4 separate regions of the Homo sapiens genome follow, and all the other regions are linked to region 4. Evidence: promoter capture Hi-C in 16 types of primary human blood cells and fetal thymus (Javierre and others, 2016). All regions are on one chromosome and are shown on one strand. The core of a region is centred on a gene start or on the middle of the fragment in contact, and the rest is flanking DNA. Distances in the headings are between cores, read along the strand shown. Region 1 holds the start of NDUFS8 (NADH:ubiquinone oxidoreductase core subunit S8). Region 2 holds the start of CHKA (choline kinase alpha). Region 3 has its middle 7.0 kb from the start of PPP6R3. Region 4 holds the start of C11orf24 (chromosome 11 open reading frame 24).

Region 1 (2,885 bases), core at 61-2,560, 240 kb before region 4:
ACTTCCCCAATCCACGCAGGAATCCCCGCAGGCATCCACGCAGGAATCACCTGATGAAGGGCCAGGGTCAGGTGTGGGCCACCATCCCAAGACCTCCCTTCTCTCTAGGGCCAGCCCCTCTCCTCTGAGCACCTGCTGACCAGCCCAAAGCCCTCTCCACTCCTCAGCTTGAACTCCCCCAGGGTCTCCCTGTGGCCCACAGGTCCTTTGGAGGCTCGGGCATCTGCATGCAAATCCCAAACCACTGTCCCCTTTGCACACACTGAGCCTGCCCTTGTCCTCGTCCTGGTCTACCATGCGTGTCCTCCCTCTGCACGGGCATGGGACATGCCCTCTGCCTCCTTCCTGTCCTGGCCTGCCCAACTCCTACCTACCCTCAGCGCAGATCCTCCCAACACACACATGCAGGCAGCCTCGGGGCCTCTGCGGGTCCCTCTACCACAGCATTCCCGGGGAAAGGCCCGGCGTGGTGGCTCACGCCTGTAATCCCAGCACTTTGGCAGGCCGAGGCAGGAGGATCGCCTGAGTCCAGGAGTTCCAGACCAGCCTGGGCAACATGGCGAGACCCCGTCTCTACAAAAAATACAAAAATTAGCCGAGCCTGGTGGTGGCAGGCGACTGTGGTTCCAGCTGCTCGGGAGGCTGAGAAGTGAGGATCACCCGAGCCTGGGAGGTCGAGGCTGCAGTGAGCCGAGATCGCACCACTGCATTCCAGCCTGAGCCACAGAGCCAGATTGTCTCAAAAAAAGAAAAAAAAAAAAAAAAAAAAAAAAATTCGCTGGTAGGAAACATAGGCTGGTTGAGTACGGGAGTCATACAGATCAGGTGGATCAGGCGGCCGCACACCGCAGCTCTACGGCCCGGGAACGTTACTAAATACTCCCATGCCTCAGCTTCCCGCCTTAACGTGGTAACACGTTACTGTAGTTTCTCCACGCAGAGCTGCTGTGAGGATTAAAAGAGGCCGCGTGAGTTGAGCATCTCGTCGCCATTACCGTCATCACACGCCCCCCACCCAACCCGGCGGGCCCACCCTCTGCACCCACGGCGAAAGCACTCTTTCTAAACCACGCCCCGGATGTCCCGCCTCCAGCGGCTCGGAGGTCTTCACTTATTGGCCTCCCCAAACCAACATGGCGGCCCCCTACAAACTTCAAGCGCCGGTCTCTCCTAGCCAATCAAAAGAAAGATATTTCTGAATCCCGCCTCTTTCAGCAGCCTTGCTGGCCAATCAGACCACACCATGAAGCATCAATACAGAAAAGGGGGAACCCGCTGGCCCAATGGCAGCGTCCTACAGTGTAGCCTCCGCCTCCCGATTGACTGGCCTGCTTGGCAAGGCAAGTAGCGGCGGCGCTTCAAGGTGGGTGTTCACGTTTTGGCCGTGAAAGTCGGGCTTGGGCAGCGTGGCGTCGGGGGCGAGTGTGGTGTCCCCGTTGGCGCCGCCAGCTCTGCGCCTGGGCTTCCCCTCGGCTCACTCAGGATCCGCGGCCTCCGTGTCCTTCAGGTGCAGCGGGGAGCCGGCTCTCAGGGCGCATGCGCCGCCCGCTCTGCGCCACCGGCCTAGTTAGGGTCGGAGATCACTGGGAAGGTGGGGAAGGTGCTGGGTTGGGTCCCTGGAACTGCAGTCAGTGATCCAAAGGAGTGGGCCTGTTAGGGGGTTCACAGGTCGTGGGATGAGCTCTTATGAGCGCCGGCTAAGTGCCGGGCTCTGGGGTGCCCTTGGCATGTACGGGCTCCCCTAATTCCCAAGACCAACCGCCCCCAACCCACTTCATAGGTGAGAAGACGGAGGTCAGGTCACATCATCTGCCCAAGGTCACGCGGCAGGCTGGGGGACAGTTCCAGGAGGGCCTTGAAGCTGGGGAAAGGAATGTGGTACCGAGGACTGTTCAGGCCTTGAAGAGTTTCCAGCAGGGCAGGGCTGGGTTCCGATCCTCGGCCCACCTCCTTATCGTGTGACTTCCGACAAGTCACTTTTTTATCTTTTTTTTGAGACAAGGTCTCACTCTGTCGCCCAGGTTGGAGGGCAGTGGTGCAGTCTGGGCTCACTGCAACTTCTGCCTCCTGGGTTCAAGCGATTCTCCTACCTCAACCTCCCGAGTAGCTGGGATTATAAGTGCCCACCACCACACCTGGCTAATTTCTGTATTTTTTGGTAGGGACGGGGTTCCACCATGTTAGCCAGGCTGGTCTCAAACTCCTGACCTCAGGTGATCCACCTGCCTCAGCCTCCCAAAGTGCTGGGATTACAGGCGTGAGCCACCACACCCAGCCCTAGCGAGTCACTCAACAAACTGAGTCCCAGCGCCTTATTTGTGCCTCCCTCGTGGAGTCCTTGTAAGGATAGGATGGCAGCGCTTTCCACCCCTGGGCACGGTTCCTGGGGGAGGAGAGCTAACAAAGTTCGCTCTCAGTGCATGCTGGCGGGGGCTGGTAATGTTGTTTTTGGTTAGATTTGGGGAGGATGAAGGGAGGAGCAGAAAGGTGGGAAACAGGATCTCTGGGAGGGAGAAAGGAAGGATGGATTTAAAAGGTTTCTTAGGTGAGGCAGAACTTGGGGTCCACAGAAACTGAATTGTAGCTCAGCCAAGCTGAATCAGATGGAAAGCTGGGAGGCGCTGGGAACAGGAAAGCCATCTGTGCCTCTGACAGCAATGGGGTGCGAGTAGAGGGCAAAGTGACACATGTCAGTGGAGACTTGGGATCCTTGCGGTGCCAGTCTCAGAAGAGGATGGTTCTTGGGCACACCCCACCCTCCATCCCTTTTTATGCCACCAGATGCGCTGCCTGACCACGCCTATGCTGCTGCGGGCCCTGGCCCAGGCTGCACGTGCAGGTAGGACCAAAGAAGCCTTTGCTGGGGGTAGGGGAGTCCAGTCTCC
Region 2 (3,298 bases), core at 211-2,710, 150 kb before region 4:
TTTAAAAAAAGGAAAAAATGGCCGAGCGCGGTGGCTCATGCCTGTAATCCCAACATTTTGGGAGGTCGAAGCGGGTGGATCACCTGAGGTCGGGAGTTCAAGATCAGCCTAACGAACATGGAGAAACCTTGTCTCTACTAAAAATACAAAATTAGCCGGGCGTGGTGGCGTGTGTCTGTAATCCCAGCTACTCGGGAGGCTGAGGCAAGGAGAATCGCTTGAACACGGGAGGCCGTGGTTGCAGTGAGCCGAGGTCGCGCCACTGCACTCCAGCCTGGGGACCAAGAGCGAAACTCCGTCTCAAAAAAAAAAAAAAAAGGAAAAAACATTTCTACCTTACTCTTATTTTAGGAGCCACGCCTCCCACCTTTGTCTAGTAACACAGCTATAGTGATGTCTCTTAGGGGATGAGAAAATGCTACTCCTCCACTAACAATGACTCTTGGAGAGGGAACAAGACATCAAATCGCGAACTCGAAAAACTAACAGAAAAAAGTTAAAAAGTGGTTTGTGTTTTTAAAGCCAGCCACAACACCTTCATTCAAGGCCCTAAACCGCAGAGACTTTCTAGACCTATCTTAAGCGTCAGTACCACACGCACTTCGTGATGGAACGGTATTGTTCTCCTAGAACAGACCCGTTTTCTCATGAAACCGACGTTTTTACAAAAGCCTGTTTGTGGACGGCCTGCGGCGGCCGCGAACCCGCTTCCCTTGGATTACCCAGGGCTGGGAGAAGGAGGGCTTTCGCCGGCTGCGGTCCCCGGTCCCCGGCCTCCGCCCCGGCCCCGGCTCCCCCGGCCCCCGACCCCCCCGGCCCACGCCCCCTGCCCGGACCCCGCCCCGGCCCCGCCCCGCGTCACCTGACTGTCCCGCGGCCCCCAGACCCGGCGCCACCGACCTGATGACACTGATGTGGAACTCGTCCTCGCGGAGGCCCCGCCAGGCGCCGGGCAGGAACTCCTTGCACCACAGATAGGCCCTGCGCCGCGTCCGGGGCTCCGGCTGCTCGTCTGCGGGCGGCTGCGGCGGCGGGGGCTGGGGCAGCGGCAGCGGCAGCGGCAGCGGCGGCGGAGGGGGCAGCGCGAGCGGCGGCTGTTGGCCGCCCAGCTGCTTGGACTCGAGGTCGCTGGCGGCGTCGCGCTGCTGCCCCACGCCGGGCGCCGGGGCCGCGCTGCCGCTACCGCAGCTCAGCAGCAGCCCGAGCGGCGAGGGCTCCGCCTCGCCCCCGGTGCAGAATTTGGTTTTCATGCCCGACAGGCGGCCGAGGAGGCGCGGGCGGCCGCAGCGCGAGAGGACTAGGCTCAGAGTCCGGCCGGGCGCCCCCTCGCCGCTCTCTCACTGGCAGGCCGGCGGGGCAGGGGGCCGCGGCGGTTGGGCGCGCGGGGCGGCGGCGGCGGCTGCGGCGACTGCGGCGACTGTGGAGCGGGGATGTGCTGCTGGCCGCTGCACTCGCTCCTCTGCCGCCGCCGCACGAGGAGCGCCGGCCGCGTCACAGCCCGCCCTCGCGCTCGCCACTGATTGGCCGCCGTCCGCCGGCCCGGCGCATCATAACCGCCGCCGCCCTCGCCACACCGCCTCCCCATTGGCTGCGGCGCCGCCCCCAACCCAGAGCGCTGCGGCCTCCGTGAGCGGGGCCTGGGCGAAGGGGGCGGGGCGTCGAGGGGGCGCCCCGGCGGTCGCAGGGAAGGGGGAGAGGGGAGCGAGGCGCGGGGGGCGCCGGGAGAGCGCCTCCGCGGTGGGACGGAGCCGGACTGGGCCGAGCGAGGGAGGCTCCTGAGCCTCGGAGGACCCCGGGGTTGGCTTTGGGAGCTGAAAGTTTCCTTGGACCCCTCGGAAGCCCCGTGACATCAGAGGCCGGGCCTGGCAGGGGCAGGCAGGAAACGTGTCTGGAGGCTACTGCCCTCTCCGCGTGACCTTGGGCGAGCAGCCTCCTCCTGGGGCTCAGTGGGTGTGATTTTGTAACATTTCCCAGCGCTGCCACAGGCGCGTCTCGCCCTGTCCAACGCGGAGCCCGAAGAATTACTAAGAAACCGAGGTCTGAAGGAGGGAAGAGGTGACGGGCTCGAGGCCACACGGTGGGCCAGGCTGGGCCCGGCTGCACGCCGGCTACCGGGGCCCAGCCCTCTGCACGCCTCCCGCAGCCTCAGTTTCCCTGTCCGTGGTACTGAGGATGCTCGGGCCTAGAAGTTCAGGGCTGGAGGCCCAGGGACCGTCGAGGGAGGGGCATCATCCCCGCCATGGGGCCGCCGCAACTGCCCAGAGCACAGGCCAAAGGTGCGTGCCACGGGGCTACTGGCGTTGTGGACGCTGCCCCTGCCTCCCCATCCCCCGCAGGAAACAGCCTTGTGACCGTGACTAACGCACCTTTGCCGGGGTAGAGGGGCAAGGGCCCCTGCTACCGTTTGCCACACACTGCCCCATGTCCCTCACTGCTCCCGTCCTTCCTAGAAGTGAGGTGCTGATACATATAAAAATTATGGATCCCATTTTATGGGACATGAGCTGAAACAGGAGGTTTCCTGGGCTGCCAGGGGCTTAGGAAATCCAGTGCCTGATACACAGGAAATGCTTCTATGTGGGGAGTTCACAGTCTTCCAGAAGCAAAAATGTTTTTTGGTTTTTTTTTTGAGACGGAGTCTTGCTCAGTCGCCCAGGCTGGAGTGCAGTGGCACGATCTCGGCTCACTGCAACCTCCGCCTCCCGGGTTCACGCCATTCTGCTGCCTCAGCCTCCCGAGTAGCTAGGACTACAGACGCCCGCCACGACGCCTGGCTAATTTTTTTTTTTTTTTTTTTTTTTTTTTTGTATTTTTAGTAGAGACGGGGTTTCATCGTGTTAGCCAGGATGGTCTCGATCTCCTGACCTCGTGATCCGCCCGCCTCGGCCTCCCAAAGTGCTGGGATTACAGGAGTGAGCCACCGCGCCCGGCCGCAAAAATCTTTTAGAGTGTGTACTTGGCTGAACTTGCTCCACGCAAAATGGTCTTATTTAAGGATAAAAATGAAAGGGGACTTTTGTAAGGCTGCTGTGGCGACAGGCCTGGAAGTTGACCTGCAGGGAGGTAGGAGAGACCAAGGCCCCTGGGACGGAGGCCGGCCACTGGATGTTTGAAAGGCTGAGAAGCCAAGGGCTTCAATCTGGGGAGGCCGTTTGGATAAAGGAGCCAAGGACTTTCTCTAAAAATACCGGCTCACAGGGAGGTGGGGCCATGCCAATGGCCTGCCCAGGTGACAAGCCCTTTGTCCCACTGTCCCCTGGCACCAGTCTGGTAATCTCAAAGGAATGCCAGAAATCTG
Region 3 (3,039 bases), core at 394-2,893, 180 kb after region 4:
ACGGTGGCTTACGCCTGTAATCCCAGCACTTTGGAAGGCCTGAGATCAGGAGTTCGAGACCAGCCTGGCCAACATGGTGAAACCCCATCTCTACTGAAAAAATATAAAAATTAGCCGGGCGTGGTGGCGGGTGCCTCTAATGTCAGCCACTCGGGAGGCTGAGGCAGGAAAATCACTTGAACCTGGGAGGCATAGGTTGCAGCGAGCCGAGGTTGCACCACTGCACTCCAGCCTTGGCGACAGAGCCAGACTCCATCTCAAAAAAATTAAAATAACAAAAACCTGAACAGACCAATAACAAGTAATGCGATGAAAACTGTAATAAAATGTTTCCCAACAAAGAAAGCCCAGGAACAAATGGCTTCACTGCTGAATTTTACCAAACATTTTTTTTTTTTTGAGACGGAGTCTCGCTCTGTCGCCCAGGCTGGAGTGCAGTGGCGCAATCTCAGTTCACTGCAAGCTCCTCCTCCCGGGTTCATGTCATTCTCCTGCCTCAGCCTCCTGAGTAGCTGGGACTACAGGTGCCCACCACCACGCCCGGCTAATTTCTTGTATTTTTAGTAGAGACGGGGTTTCACTGTGTTAGCCAGGATGGTCTCGATCTCTTGACCTCATGATCAGTCCACCTCAGCCTCCCAAAGTGCTGGGATTACAGGCATGAGCCACTGCGCCTGACCAAGATCCTGTCATTTATAACAAAGCAACAACGTGGATGGAACTGGAGGTCATTATGTTAAGTGAAACAAGCGAGGCACAGAAAGAGAAACTTCACGTGTTCTCACTTATTTGTGGGAGCTAAACTTTTTTTTTTTCGGGATGGAATCTTACTCTGTCACCCAGACTGGAGTGCAGTGGCGCAATCTTGGCTCACTGCAACCTCTGCCTCCCAGTTTCAAGCGATTCTCCTGCCTCAGCCTCCCAAGTAGCTGGGACTACAAGCGCCCACCACCACGCCCAGCTAATTTTTGTGTTTTTAGTAGAGATGGGGTTCCACCATGTTGGCCAGGCTGGTCTCAAACTCCTGACCTCGTGATCCACCTGCCTCAGCCTCCTGAAGTGCTGGGATTACAGGCGTGAGCCACCATGCCCGGCCGGGGAGCTAAAAATTAATACAATTGAACTCATAGAGATAGAGAGTAGAAGGATGGTTACCAGAGGCTGAGAAGGGTAGTGGGTTTGGGGGGTGAGGTGGAGGAGAGATGGTTAACAGGTACAGAAATACAGTTAGATAGAATGAAGAAGATCCGTATTTGGTAGCACAGCAGGGTGACTGGAGTCAACAATAATTTATTGTACATTTAAGAATAAATAGGCTGGGGGCGGTGGCTCATGCCTGTAATCCCAGCACTTTGGGAGGCCGAGACGGGCGGATTATGAGGTCAGGAGATCGAGACCATCCTGGCTAACACGGTGAAACCCTGTCTCTACCAAAAATACAAAAAAAAAAATTAGCCGGGCACGGTGGCAGGCGCCTGTAGTCCCAGCTACTCGCGAGGCTGAGACAGGAGAATGGCATGAACCCAGGAGGCAGAGCTAGGAGGCAGAGCTTGCAGTGAACTGAGATCATGCCACTGCACTCCAGCCTGGGCGACTGAGGGAGACTCCGTCTCAACAAAAAAAAAAAAAAAGAATAAGTAGGAAAGTATAATTAGATTTTTTTTTGTAACACAAAGGATAAATGCTTGATGTGATGGTTACATCATTTACCCTGATGTGATTATTATACGTTATATGCCTGTATCAAAACATCATGGCTGGGCACGGTGGCTCAGGCCTGTAATCCCAGCACTTTCGGAGGCTGAGGCGGGCGGATCACGAGGTCAGGAGATCGAGACCATCCTGTCCCACATGGTGAAAGCCCGTCTCTACTAAAAATACAAAAATTAGCTGGGTGTGGTGGCGCGTGCCTGCAATCCCAGCTACTCGGGAGGCTGAGGCAGGAGAATCGCTTGAACCGGGAGGCGGAGATTGCAGTACGCCGAGATCACGCCACTGCACTCCAGCCTGAGGACAGAGTGAAACTCTGTCTCAAAAAAAAAAAAAAAAAAGTTTCATGTACCCCTAGGCTGGGCGGGCACGGTGGCTCACGCCTGTAATCCCAGCACTTTGGGAGGCTGAGGCGGGCGGATCGCTTGAGGCCAGGGATTCAAGACCAGCCTGGGCAACGTGGCGAAACCCTGTCTCTACTAAAAAAACAAAATAATTAGCCAGGCATGGTGCGTGCGCCTGTAATCCGGCTACTCAGGAAGACTGAGGCAGGAGAATGGCGTGAACCCGGGAGGCGGAGCTTGCAGTGAGCCGAGATCATGCCACCACCCTCCAGCCTGGGCAACAGAGCGAGACTGCGTCTCAAAATAAATAAATAAATAAATAAATAAATAAATAAATAAATAAATAAAATAAAACAAACAACACACACACACACACACACACACACACACACACCCTAACACAAAGACCTGGAAGAAGTGCCTGGAGAGAGTCTCCTGGCCTCCCAACAGGACCCCAAAAATTGAACCCTTGATCAATGGGGCTGGATGTGCAGAGGTGGTGACAGCCCAGGGAGGCTGGGTCTCCTGAACCCGCCTTTCCCGCCCACGCAGTCAGCTGGGGAGAGTGAGGGGCTCATCCGCCGGCTGCCTACCCTCTGCCAAGTACATCCTTCAGTAAGTGCCTGAAGCGGGCACAGCCCTGCCCTTATGCCACTTATGTGCTGGGAGACCCAGAGATTAGTCAGGTGTGGCTCCTCCCCTGCATTTGCTCCCAATCCAGGAGACAGCGGGGTTCCAAAGCCATAAGGAAGCATTGTTCTAAGATACCCTAGAGCCCAGAGGGCCGTCATATTCACACAGGAAGCCAGAGGGGGCTTCTTGGAGGAGGCAGTGTCTGAGCTGTGTCTTAAAGGAGGAGGTGAAGTTAACCTGGCTTATTTAAACTTCACAACAGTCCAGCCAGGTAGGGGGTGTTCCCAGAATCTACTTGAGGGAACTGAGGTTTGGGTAAAAAGAAGCAAAGCCAACATTTTTTTTTGCATCC
Region 4 (3,351 bases), core at 193-2,692:
TTACAAGCCCAGAAGTTTGAGTTCAGCCTGGGCAACATAGTGAGACCCCATCTCTTAAAAAAAAAAAAAAAGGGAAAGAAATAACTTAATTCTTTTTTTCTGGCATAGAGAGGTTCCAAAGACCAATCCTGAAGCTTGGTAAAGGACTACAGCTGTTACCCCCACATTCTATCAGGCTATTAAGACTCACTCAGCCGCAACATGGCCAGGCCCCCACACCAAGTTAGGCAAGCTACAGATACCAAGGAGTAGGAACTGCAAACACAAATACAGGGCAAACTGCAGGTACCTAATCCTGACACGTCACCTGGCTGAACTTTGGTAGCAGAAGCCCAAGGAACACAGACTTATGGCTTTGTGTATATAGACATTGTCCTGTAGTCCAAAGGATGTGACTCTGTGGCAGACGGGAACCTAGAACATTGGACATTTATTATATTACATTAACTACCTTGCTTGCTTCCAGGTTTCTGGAAGTTTTGGTAACACAGCTAAATACTAGGGCCTAGTTTTTGCTAAGAACGTGGGTAGCTCTGACATTCCTTTGTCCATTAGGCAGATCCACTGTATAAATGGAAACATCTGTATTTTAAAGATTTTCCTAGCTGATTTTATCGAAATGTTAGAGATTTTCCTGGGGCGAGGGATAGCTGCAAGTTATTACAGTCAGATTTCTAAGCACGATGATTATTTCTGGTGGCAAACCATGCGTGTGGAGGCCGATTCCTCCTATCAGCCTAACGATTAAGTCAACATGCTAAGCAGCCACACGGGGGCTACTAAGTGACTCGCACGGGGGAAGCAGGCAGGGAGACAGATGGGCAGGGGAGGGAATCTGGGGCAATGCACAACCTCCACCCAGGTAGAGAGAGGGTCTGGGGGATAGGTCTGTGTCACTCAAGTAAGAGCGACACTTCTTGGGGTCCAGTCCCGTCCTGGGCTTGCCCGGGAAAGACCCCAGGACAAATTCGGCCCCCTTCCAGAGTGTCCCCATTCTGCTCCCACAATGGGACAAGCCGGCCTCTTCTCCAGTCTGGGCCCCCTTCGGCCCTCCTCCCTCCTCCTGTCTCTTGGGCCCCCAGCCATGCTCGGCCCCCAGTTGACTTCTTCAGTACCTGCATTGCTCAGCGTCTTGCACTCTGTGCGTGCCCCATCCGCCGCTCCTCCTGTCCCGTTCCTCCTGCCTCTCTCAGCCCCACTCACTCTCCCACTGCCCCTCGTGCCCCCATCCAACCCTCCTCCTGCCCCCCAACCTCTGTCTCTCAGTCCCAAGCCAGTCAGGGAGCCCTGACAGCAGCTACCCGGACGGCAGTGCGAGCCCCTTACCCGGGCGCAGCAGGCCCCCGGCGGCCTGGTGGCCCTCGGACAGTAGGAAGGAGCCTGAGGCCCGGCGCGGGGACGTGGCCGGCAGCGCAACCCAGGCAGCTCCGGGCAGCGCGCCCTGCCCGGGCCCCGCCCAAACGCCGGAAATGACGTCACGGAGGGCGGGGCGGGCCTGCTGGCCGGGGCGAAGAGCGGCTGCGGCGGGGCCTGTGGCGAACGGAGGCGAGCCGGAAGTGGGGGGGTTGTCTGCTCTCAGGCCCCGCCTCCCCGGGGCCGGCTCGGGCCACTTCTTGCGCGCTGCCAGAAGGAGCTATTTTGAGCAGGTCTGTGGCGGAAGTGGGTGTTCCCGGGTCTCTGCTGCCCAGCTGTGCCCGCTGCCGTCTTGGGGTCCCGGGGTGCGCGGGTTGGGCTGGGTGAGCTCAGAGGCACCTTGTCGGCAGCCGAGCCTGAAGAGGCGACCTCGAAACGCCTCGTGAGACCTTTCGCGGGCACACGCCCTTCGCGTTCCTCCGCTTCCTCCCACGTTTCTTCAGCCCCTGGCGGGGCGCTGGGGTGCCCGGTAGTTAAGGGTGGGGTGGCAGCGAGCGTTTCTGTGCACCCGCAGCGTGCCACGCCCGTGCTAAGCACTTTGCCTATAGAGCCAGTGGCTTAATTCTGCAATAGCACAGTGAAGAACTTCGCCTCATTTTACAGACGTGGAAACAGGCTCATCAAGTGCTCTGTAATTGTAAAACCTGGGATAACAAAGGAGCAAAACGCAATTTAGAGGCAAGTGTGTGGGACTTGACTTTGGTTAGAAATAGGCTTTGCAGGCCAGGCGCGGTGGCTCTTGCCTGTAATCCTAGCACTTTGGGAGGCCGAGACGGGCGGATTATCTGAGCTCAGGAGTTCGAGACCAGCCTGGGCAACATGGTGAAACCCTGTGTCTACTAAAATACAAAAAATTAGCCGGGCGTGGTGGCGTGCGCCTGTAGTCCCAGCTACTCGGGAGGCTGAGGCAGGAGAATTGCTTGAACCTGGGAGGTGGAGGTTGAAGTGAGCAGAGATCGTGCCACTGCACTCCAGCCTGGGCGACAGAGCGAGACTCTGTCTCCAAAAAAAAAAAAGAAAGAAAGAAATAGGCTTTGCAAGTTAGTAGTTCTGTGACTGAATCCCAGTCTGTATAAGACCCTCAGGCATCCCCCGGTCCAAACCAAAACCTGTCTGCGAAGGATGATTTCACAGGAGCAAACCAAGACTTTATTTCCAGTTTTATAACCTGCCTTGGGGTCTTCGGCTAGGAAGCTAAGAGACACAGAAAGCTGAGATTGGGCAAAGACAGGATCTACCATCCACTCCGAGCTCTGGGAGCACCTGAAATGCGATTTGATGTCACCACCACCATCCCCAGTTCAACCACAGTTCATGTGTGGAATTTAACCTGCAAAGTTGGGTTTGCTGAGACCCAACGCCGGTTGGATCATGTGAAGATCAGATCCTTTCACTATGTATTTGCTTTAATTTTTCCAACTAGTTCGGATCTAACATGAAGTACAGTATTGAGGCTCACTCCAGAAGTGAAAATATACAATCGGCAGGCAGATTTTAGTTCTTTGCCTGCCCTTTTCAAAAATCAATGACTGGGCTGGGCGCGGTGGCTCACGCCTGTAATCCCAACATTTTGGGAGGCCAAGGCGGGCGGATCACCTGAGGTCAGGAGTTTGAGACCAGCCTGACCGATATGGTGAAACCCGTCTCTACTAAAAATATAAAAATTAGCCAGGCGTGGTGGCGTGTGCCTGTATTCCCAGCTACTCGGGAGTCTGAGACAGGAAAATTGCTTGAACTTGGGAGGGGGAGGCTTCAGTGAGCCGAGATCTCACCACTGCACTCCAGCCTGGGCGACAGAGCGAGACTCCTTCTAAAAAAAAAAAAAAAAAAAAAAAAAAAAATCAATGACTGTGACTCTGTTTTCATTTCCTCTTTGGCAACATAGGGACAATTTTTACTGCTGGGGCTGAAATTACAAACATAAGACACAGCCTCTCC

Evidence for each region. Contacts are between HindIII fragments. The CHiCAGO score rates a contact against its expected background, and 5 or more counts as called.
Region 1: the fragment with the promoter of NDUFS8 here is called in contact with the fragment with the promoter of C11orf24 in region 4 in 8 of 17 cell types (neutrophils, total B cells, endothelial precursors and 5 more); the score reaches 12.5 in neutrophils.
Region 2: a contact is called between the fragment with the promoter of CHKA here and the fragment with the promoter of C11orf24 in region 4, in 4 of 17 cell types (neutrophils, activated CD4 T cells, monocytes and 1 more). The highest score is 11.6, in neutrophils.
Region 3: a fragment that was not itself captured here is called in contact with the fragment with the promoter of C11orf24 in region 4 in 2 of 17 cell types (total B cells and endothelial precursors); the score reaches 5.2 in total B cells.

The regions. Positions count from the first base shown.
Region 1 is chr11:68,029,371-68,032,255 of GRCh38, forward strand. NDUFS8 (NADH:ubiquinone oxidoreductase core subunit S8) reads left to right here and starts at 1,311. Exons shown (of 7, transcript NM_002496.4): 1 at 1,311-1,363; 2 at 2,782-2,839. The coding sequence starts at 2,782. It overlaps GLTC1 (glycolysis associated regulator of LDHA post-transcriptional modification 1), which reads right to left and starts at 1,064. Exons shown (of 4, transcript NR_197583.1): 1 at 923-1,064; 2 at 1-50. RefSeq lists enhancers at 1,052-1,346, 1,338-1,517. The HindIII fragment of the contact is 7,666 bases long and covers 1-2,885 here.
Region 2 is chr11:68,119,928-68,123,225 of GRCh38, forward strand. CHKA (choline kinase alpha) reads right to left here and starts at 1,461. Exons shown (of 12, transcript NM_001277.3): 1 at 901-1,461. The coding sequence starts at 1,250. CHKA-DT (CHKA divergent transcript) reads left to right here and starts at 1,961. Exons shown (of 4, transcript NR_183630.1): 1 at 1,961-2,276. RefSeq lists enhancers at 186-315, 456-585, 1,434-2,199, 2,200-2,966 and silencers at 736-865, 1,436-1,865, 2,216-2,315. The HindIII fragment of the contact is 18,960 bases long and covers 1-3,298 here.
Region 3 is chr11:68,452,226-68,455,264 of GRCh38, forward strand. No RefSeq gene overlaps it. Among named protein-coding and RNA genes, the nearest start is that of PPP6R3, 7.0 kb to the right of the region's middle. The HindIII fragment of the contact is 6,956 bases long and covers 1-3,039 here.
Region 4 is chr11:68,270,531-68,273,881 of GRCh38, forward strand. C11orf24 (chromosome 11 open reading frame 24) reads right to left here and starts at 1,443. Exons shown (of 4, transcript NM_022338.4): 1 at 1,327-1,443. LOC105369363 (a long non-coding RNA gene) reads left to right here and starts at 1,572. Exons shown (of 3, transcript XR_950248.3): 1 at 1,572-1,646. RefSeq lists a silencer at 1,241-1,640 and an enhancer at 1,552-2,406. The HindIII fragment of the contact is 7,211 bases long and covers 133-3,351 here.